Linked DNA regions of Homo sapiens: region 1 is linked to region 2. The links are contacts of gene promoters, found by promoter capture Hi-C in human tissues and cell types (Jung and others, 2019). All regions are on one chromosome and are shown on one strand. Each heading gives the region's core, a stretch centred on a gene start or on the middle of the fragment in contact. The rest is flanking DNA. Distances are from core to core; before and after follow the strand shown. Region 1 overlaps KPNB1 (karyopherin subunit beta 1). Region 2 holds the start of OSBPL7 (oxysterol binding protein like 7).

The links. The method cuts DNA at HindIII sites, captures the fragments that hold promoters and counts their contacts. A contact is called where the count stands out against the background at its distance.
Region 1: a contact is called between a fragment that was not itself captured here and the fragment with the promoter of OSBPL7 in region 2, in 1 of the 25 tissues and cell types used here (spleen).

The regions. Positions count from the first base shown.
Region 1 is chr17:47,680,344-47,684,408 of GRCh38, reverse strand. It overlaps KPNB1 (karyopherin subunit beta 1), which reads right to left. Exons shown (of 22, transcript NM_002265.6): 21 at 3,740-3,901; 22 at 1-2,005. The coding sequence ends at 2,005. Among named protein-coding and RNA genes, the nearest start is that of TBKBP1, 12 kb to the left of the region's middle. The HindIII fragment of the contact is 4,511 bases long and covers 166-4,065 here.
Region 2 is chr17:47,819,708-47,824,246 of GRCh38, reverse strand. It overlaps OSBPL7 (oxysterol binding protein like 7), which reads left to right and starts at 2,453. Exons shown (of 23, transcript NM_145798.3): 1 at 2,453-2,581; 2 at 3,882-4,043; 3 at 4,151-4,276; 4 at 4,465-4,518. The coding sequence starts at 3,969. It overlaps MRPL10 (mitochondrial ribosomal protein L10), which reads left to right. Exons shown (of 5, transcript NM_145255.4): 5 at 1-975. The coding sequence ends at 42. RefSeq lists an enhancer at 1,995-2,164 and a silencer at 2,275-2,490. The HindIII fragment of the contact is 25,136 bases long and covers 1-4,539 here.

The DNA of each region.
Region 1 (4,065 bases), core at 1,172-3,671, 140 kb after region 2:
ATGAGCTCTTTATTCACAATGGAGCGTCTCTCCTTCAAATACCTGGATTTTTTTTTTTTTGTACACTGGTTCATAGATCGGCACTTGACTTTGAACCTGGCACCAAAAGGCACAATATCTGATACCCTGTACAAGAGCTATTAGAGATGCTGCCATATGGATGGGCAAAACTGAGCCAATCCCACTTAGGAATGGAAGGCTTGGACATGGAAGGGAGGATATAAACGAGGAGTTGGAGAAAAACGCAAGCCCAGTTTTTGCTAGAGTGGAAATGAAAGTGGGAATGAGGGTCTTGTTTTTAGTCCTCTAAGGACCAGGAAGCAATTTTAAAACTTCCTTGGTTTTTCTGAAAGCAGCATATTCAAAATGCCAGCAAAAACTCCTAACAACTGCAAAACCAAAAGAGGATCAAAGCTCACCAACATCCCTTCTTATTGCTGAAAGGCTCTAAAATTCAGGATGCCCTGTTCCCTTGTAAAAGGGAAAATAATTAAGTCTGATTTATGGTAATCATACCACATCACACTTCTAAAAAAATATTCAAGTGTGTGACCAGGGGACGTTTGACACCATTTTATTAACCTTCAACTTCAGTGGAAAAATAAAACCTTTTCCAAGTGCCATTTTCATCACAAGACTTCTAGTTAGTGTGTGTGTGTATTCACACAACACACACTTTTTTTTGTTTTTGTTTTGTTGGTTGCTTTTGAAGTGCAGCAAGAGACCAATACCGCATTGTAGTCAATCAAATAAAAGAACAGAAGGCCAAGCAGTTTCCAAATGGTTATTTTATCAGATTGTTTGAACATTTAATTTATCCTGTTTGCAATCCAAAATAGTTACCTGAAGTTTGCTGTTTTGTGTGTATGTGTTTACTTTTATTGTATATTTATTTTTCTAAACTCTTTGGCACAATTTTCTGGGGGCGTTCAGACTGCCACAATACAAGTCAGGAGAGGGCGTTTTCTTTGTGCTGCCAATTCTGATCATTTAAATTTTGGTTTGTTTGGGTTGTGATTTTTTTGTTTTTGAAGTCTGCGTTATTTGTAACAATTGTACTTATATTTTTCTATATCCTCTAACGCCAGAGTTTTCTTTTTCTCCCCCCTCCCCCCCACTTCTACATTCACAGTTGAACCATATTATTAGGAAAGGCGCCTTGATGAAAAGATCAGGATAGGAGCTCTGACCATTCGTCAGTGTTTTCCCTAGAGTAAAAAAAACAAAAAACAAAACCAAAAAAAAAAAACAAAACAAAACCTAAAGAGCGTCTTTCCTCTGTGTGTGTGTTTTTTTTTTTTTTTTTTTTTTTTTTTTTACATCTCTTGTGCTGCATCAGTAAACAAAACTTCGGTTAGTTTTATGAAATGCAACATCTAACCCCTTGTTTTCTGGGAAAAAGAAACTGCAATGACTTGAAGTTGAGAATGTGGATACCGCCTCACTCACACACACTCATTCTCAGACTGTAAAAAATCCCTGACCCTCCTTCTAGCTGGCAAGCATACAGTACCATGTGGCAAAGGTACAGCGAAGGTGGGCTTGAGACCCAGGCTCCATCTTTCTCCTCAGTAGCAAAGGCCAGGCTGCCTTTTACAACAAAGCACCACAGCTGAACCCAGTCCCTCCTCCTCCCCCAAACCAGGCATTCCACTCGGCACTGGCCAAAAGACAGAAAAGCTACTTCTAGCCTCTCCTGGGAAGAGATAACTTTCTTTCTTTTTTTTTAAATAAGTAACTCCATTGTTTTTCTCTTTTCCAAGATGGCCGATGTTATGGTTTTCTACGAAGTCAGTGCTTACTTAGCTCACTAACAGCGCTGCTGTTGGCGGCTGCGGCTGCTGCTGTGGCAGGATTTTCAATGTGGTGTGTTTTCAAGCCTCACTCACTCATCCTCTCATTCCCAAACATTCAGCATCCGTGCACACTCCTCACTTCCAGGTTTTTCAAAAGATGGGAGATTTCCAGTGGGGGTCCTCAGGTTATCATCCCAATGGTAACAGATCTGAAAACAGATGGAAAAAAAGGTCAATCTTTGAGATCACATATACCCAACAGAGCCAATAATGCTGACTCCTACAATTACATGCTCCTAGGCCTGAATGGAATTTGTCAACATTTCAAGGATTGACACTCTTTCTTCTTGTCCTATGTGCCATTGACCTGCTCTTATTAACACCTACATCAGAGGGTGCGAGGGAAACTCAAAGAGCCAATTTTACTGAGATCTGTGGAGTAAGATAACTAATTAAGAGTGAAAGAAATTAAAACTGTATTTCAGTCTGGGTGCAGTGGCTCAAGCCTTTAATCTCAGCACTTTGGGAGGCCAAGGAGGGAGAACTTCTTGAGGTCAGGAGTTCAAACCCAGCCTGGGCAACAGGAGATCTTGTCTCTAAAAATAAAAAAAAATTAGCCAGTCATGGAGGTGCTTGCCTGCAGTCCCAACCACCTGGGAGGCTGAGGCAGGAGGGCCACTTAAGCCCAGGAGCTGGAGGCTTCTATGAGGTGTGATTGTACCACTGCACTCCAGCCTGGGTGACAGAGGAGACTCTGTCTCCAAACAAACAAGATTGCATTTCAAAGTAGGAGCCAAGGCCTGGTGTGGTGGTGCACACCTGGGAGACCGACAAAGGTGGATCACCTGAGGTCAGGACCAGTCTGGCCAACATGGTGAAAACCCATCTCTACTAAAAATACAAAAAAAAAAAAAAAAAAAAAAAAACCTATAATTCCAGCAATTTAGGAGGCTGAGGTGGGTGGATCACCTAAAATCAGGAGTTCAAGACCAGCCTGGCAAACATGGTGAAACCCCATCTTTACTAAAAATACAAAAACTGGGCCAGGCATGGTAGCTTACGCCTGTAATCCCAGTACTTTGGGAGGCCGAGGTGGGTGGATCACGAGGTCAGGAGGTCAAGACCAGCCTGGCCAAGATGGTGAAATCCTGTTTCTACTAAAAATACAAAAAAATTAGCCAGGTGTGGTGGTGGTAGGGCACCTGTAATCCTAGCTACTCAGGAGGCTGAGGCAGAGAACTGCTTGAACCCGGGAGGCAGAGGTTGCAATAAGCTGAGATCGCACCACTGCACTCCAGCCTGGGCGACAGAGCGAGACTGTCTCCAAAAGAAAAAAAAAAAAAAAAAGAAGAAGAAAAGAAAAGAAAAAAAGAAAATTAGTCGGGTGTGGTGGCATGTGACTGTAATCCCAGCTACTCGGGAGGCTGAGACAGGAGAATTGCTCAAACCCAGGAGGCAGCAGTTGCAGTGAACCGAGATTGTGCCATTGCACTCCAGCCTGGGCGACAGTGAGACTCTGTCTCAAAAAGAAAACACACACACACACACACACACACAAAAAAACATTTGACTTTGGAAATCTTCTCTAGAGCTAGGCAACGTCTAAAAGCACTGCTGTAAAGAAAGAATAGGGCATGAGGAAAGGAATAGAAAACAGAAGAGAATTAGGGGGAAATGGCATTACTGATGATTTTATTAGGACCCAAAATACTCAGGGAATTTCAGTGAATTCCAGTTTTAAAAGTTCTGCTCTCCATCACTATGAGGAGTCAAACATTTGGCTCAAGGAAAAACTGAGGCTGCCTGACTCAGAAGCACCTACATGGGAAAAAGTACAAACAAAAAAAATGCCAGAAGGCAGTGCTTGCCAGAATGGCCTAAAGAAAACATACCCCCCTCCTCCAGGAAGTAGAAGAAAGAGGACAGTGGAGGCAAGATCTTACCAAGCTTGGTTCTTCAGTTTCCTCAGTTCTTTTGTTGCCCATGTAGCAAGGGTTTTTGCTTTGTTAGTCTTCGATCTCCGCCCTTCAGTTAACAATTCATGGATCATTGGCCTAGCTTCTACTAATTTCAGTACATCCTTCCCAAATGCTGTACATAAGTCCCTGTGCAAAACAAACACAGCTGAGAATGAGCTCCTAGCCCCATACCAGTATAATGTTTTGAGCCTTCCAAACCAGTGCTATGGGTTTCTTAGCAAATTTCAAAGATAAATAAAACCCTCAGTAGAGGTCACTAGACAGAGGCAATTGTTGACCAACATCAGAGT
Region 2 (4,539 bases), core at 1,204-3,703:
GCCAATGGGAAGCCAGATCCTGACACTGTTCCGGACTCGTAGCCAGCCTGTTTAGCCAGCCCTGCGCATAAATACACTCTGCGTTATTGGCTGTGCTCTCCTCAATGGGACATGTGGAAGAACTTGGGGTCGGGGAGTGTGTTTGTCACTTGGTTTTCACTAGTAATGATATTGTCAGGTATAGGGCCACTTGGAGATGCAGAGGATTCCATTTCAGATGTCAGTCACCGGCTTCGTCCTTAGTTTTCCCAACTTGGGACGTGATAGGAGCAAAGTCTCTCCATTCTCCAGGTCCAAGGCAGAGATCCTGAAAAGATAGGGCTATTGTCCCCTGCCTCCTTGGTCACTGCCTCTTGCTGCACGGGCTCCTGAGCCCACCCCCTTGGGGCACAACCTGCCACTGCCACAGTAGCTCAACCAAGCAGTTGTGCTGAGAATGGCACCTGGTGAGAGCCTGCTGTGTGCCAGGCTTTGTGCTGAGTGCTGTACATGTATTAGTTCCTTTACTGCTGACCACATTGTACCCATTTCACAGAGAAGGAGCAGAGAAATTAAGTGGCTTGCTCAAGGTCATGCAGTTAGTAAGTGGCAGAACAGGGACTTGAACCAAGCCCTCTGCTCTGAAGACCGCGTCCTGAATTTCTTCACTAGAGCTTCCTCATCAGGTTACCCAGAAGTGGGTCCCATCCACCATCCAGGTGTGCTTGGATGTTAGTTCTCCACCCTCGAGGTGTACGCTGTGAAAAGTTTGGGAGCACTGCTTTATAATAAAATGAAATATATTCTACTTCCTTTATTTTGTGGTTTACACGGTTGTCCTCCCTCTAAACTTACTCTCAGGGGCTTCTCTGTCATCTGACTTTCCTCACTCTTGCTTCCCTTCCTAGGAAAATCCTCTTCCCCTATACCTGTTCCCACAAATGGCATCCCGCGCATGCTTGCCCTATTAAAGGCAGCTGACAGCTGTACCCACTAGCTAACGTGTCTCTGGTGGTTCTGGACAAAAGGCCTGCGGGAAAACTAGGATTCTCTATTAATGGGGAATTCTGAGAGCTCTAGGGTAGGAGGCCTCATGCAAGTCTTCATGAACCAGAAATTCCTAATAAAGGAGACGGGATGCTTAACTCAGAGTCCACCATCATCCTTGACTGGAGCACATTCTGGGTGGATGCAGGGGTGACCCGGGGAAGGTGGCTGTTCAACATTCCTTCTCGGACTTGAAGCAATGCCACCGCTTCCTTAGTCTTGGACAGGCACTGTCTGGCAGGGATGACCTGCAGCAGCTCTTTTGTGGCCTGGGCCAGGACCAGCTTCCCCCAGTGCCTCATCCTGTGCTGTATGCCCAGGGATGTTCAATCACTGGGAAGTGGCTTAAAAGGCCCTTGAGGCTCCTGGATGCCAGAGCTTGTCTGGTCAGTGCTGCCCAGTGCTCCTGTCCCTCCCAGAACCCTGCCAGGTGCTAACAACACCCTCCTCCTGGGGTGGCTGGAGCAGCACTGAGGCTCTGAATAAAGGCAAGACAGTGGGTGTTCCCGAGAGATATGTGAGACCCTGAAACGTAAACCAAGCTCGGTGAGGATGAAGTGGAAGGGATAAGTGGCCCATGTCACTTTTGGGGTCAGAGAAGAAACTTGAATCACATCCTTCACCTGAGGCCCCACCTACTTCTTTCCAGAAAACTTAGCTGCGCTTGAAACTGTAGGTCTATGCCACATTCATTTGAATGAATTTTAGATCTTTGTTAAGAGCCGATTTTTCATTAGAATTGAGCAGCTGGGCACAGTACTCCAGCAGAAGGGTAAAGGGAAGGGAGGGGACCAGCATTGCAGCCCTTTTAACGGCAGCTGTGACTGCCCCAGGCCTGCTCCTGATCAGAGACTGCAGGCTGTGGGGTGTCTTCATACACACAAGCACTTTCAGATCTCCATGGGGCCTGACCTAGTGGGGCATCACCCCAGTGAAGGGCCTCAGTGTGGGGACTGCTGGCTGTCCCTTTCCTGGCTTGACTGCCCCTGCTGACTGTGCTCTTGGCACTCTCTTATGGTCCCAGAGGGGGCATCTGTCCCTCCACCATCAACCTGATACTTTTGCTGGCTCCAAATTTTGCAGTCTATTTTCAGATGTAAAATGAGAGGCGGGGGGCGGGGGTTAATTAGGAATTGGCCTTGGGTACTAACAGGGTCACTGCCATGCTAGTCTGAATAAATCCTTTATCACCACTGGCGTACAGCCAACAGTTCCCCAGTCCTCTGATCTATCTGGAACCATGCCCAGCAGGGACTGTGCCCCCACTCCCAAGCCACATCGATGCTAGGGCAGTCTGCTCAGCCCTGAGTCCTCCGGGGAGCAGGGGGGCAGAGCTGAGCGGCTGCCCGGAGCTTGGCGGGAGGAGGGGACAGGGGAGAGGGAGGTGGGGAGATCCGGCTAGAGGGGAGGCTCTGACATCTCCTTCCTTCCTGGTTCCTGCAGCAGCTGCTGCCACTGCTCAGCGCGGTGAGGAGGGAGCCGGTGACTCGGAGACGGTGACTCAGAGGCAGAGCGGCGCAAGGGCCAAGGAGTACTGGCGTCCATGGACCCTGGGGTAAGGGGGCTGCGTGGCAGCAGCTGACATTCCTGAGAAGAGCTTCCTCCCACCTGAAGCTGGTGGGTCTGCTCCTGAATAGAGGTGGAGAGGGGGCACCCACCTGGCTCACCTAGACCCTTCACCTGCCTACCGATAGAGCCTCCCCCTCTACCCACAAGCAGTGAGGGGCCAGGATCCCCACAGGGCCGGGAGAAGGGCCCAGAGATACCTGAACACCGGAAGAGTTTGAGAACTTTCAATGGCTGAATGCAGGAGTTTCCTCCCAGGTCAGCCTCTTGCAGCAAGGGTCCCTCTGCCCCAACCTCCTGGGCACCCGTTCCTGCCACATCCCTGTCCCCTCTGGGCCTCAGTTCCTCAGGTGCTTGCTAGCTCCATTAGAAGATCTGGGCTGCTTCCCCCACCTCAAACCAGCCTCGCCCCTCCAGTCCCCTCCCCCGTCTCACACATGCAGAGCCTCATGCATTATTGATCTCCCGGTGGAGCCAGGATGGCCAGGGCCAGTGCCAAGGGTGCCTGTGGGCACTGCTGCAGGACCTGTGCAGACCTGGGCATGTCCTGGGCCCCCTCTTCTCTCATGAAGTATCTCCTTTAGCCCAATGTCCTGCCCTCTCTGGGTGGGTGGCACTTCTCAGAGCCCCAAGGACTGTGAGGGTAGACAGGGGATGGTGAGGCTTTAGGGGGTACTGAGGGTCCAAAAAGGGCATCCTAGGGGCATGTTTGGTGGGAGGAGACATGGGAAAATGGGGGCTATCTCAGGCCTCAGTTTCTCCAAGCACTAGATAATATGGAGATTAATTGGTGGGAGGCTGGGGAGTTTTCTGCAAGATCATGGCAGAGAAGTCTCTGAGCTACGGTGGCAGGGTGGAGGGGTCCTGAAGGCAGAGGCAGCTGGATTGAGGAGGTCTCGCTTGTCCAGTCTCTGAACCCCTCTGTCTCTTCTTGGAGCCTCTTCTGTCACTCCCTTGCTTCACCTCTGAGCACTCCCAGGGAAGCCTCTAAAGAAAGCACTGAATGTTTCTTGGAGCCCCAGAGTATGTGCCCAAGGCGGGGCTGGGCATATGTCTTGTGGTTTTCCCTGGGCACCTGCCCGTCTGCTGTGTGCTAGTTCACTCTCAGGGCAGTGTCCATATCAGGTGAAAATGGGTGGGGTCGGGACAGAGGGGCAGACTTGGGAGAGGCTTGGCAGGTGAGCAGAGGGTATGTTGGGGAGCCCTTATCTCAGAGGGTGTGGGAGGGGCTGGAGGTGGGGAAGGTGATAGCAGAGTTTGCGTTAAGGGGGTCTTTCTCTTGCTTCAAGGACCCCGTCAGGAGCAGGTGACATCCTTCCCCTTCCACCCTGCTCCCTGCTCTACATCCCCAGCAGGGAGTGGCCTCTCCCTTCTCCATGGACTTCCAAGAGAGGGACCCGCCCTTCCTGCCTGAGAGCGCTCAGTCCTCAAAGCCCAGCAGTGCTCAGCAGGTCAGAGAGTGGGAAAGCGGTGGTGGGTGGGCCAAGCTGGAACCAGACAGGGAGGGGCCAAGGCGGACGTCTCACCAGTGCTCCCCTCCCTCTGTCCTGGACTGCAGGCCTCTGAGCTGTGGGAGGTGGTGGAGGAGCCTCGGGTCAGGCTGGGGACAGAGGGTGTCATGCCTGAGAGGCAGGAAGGTCACCTGCTCAAGAAGAGGAAGTGGCCTCTGAAGGGCTGGCACAAGGTAGGGTGGGCAGGCAAAGGGAGGGTCCAGACATGGGGGGCGGGGTGGGAATGGGGGGCAGCTGCTGGGCAGTCCAATGGTGTTTGCATGATGAGAAGGAAAAGAAAAGCTAATTTGTGTGGTTGCCTTCTCCCTCATGCCCTTCCTCTCGGCCTCCCGGGTCCTGTCACTCCTGGGCAACATCACAGAGATACTTTGTGCTCGAGGACGGGATCCTTCATTATGCAACAACCCGGCAAGACGTGAGCCCGGGCAGTGGCTTG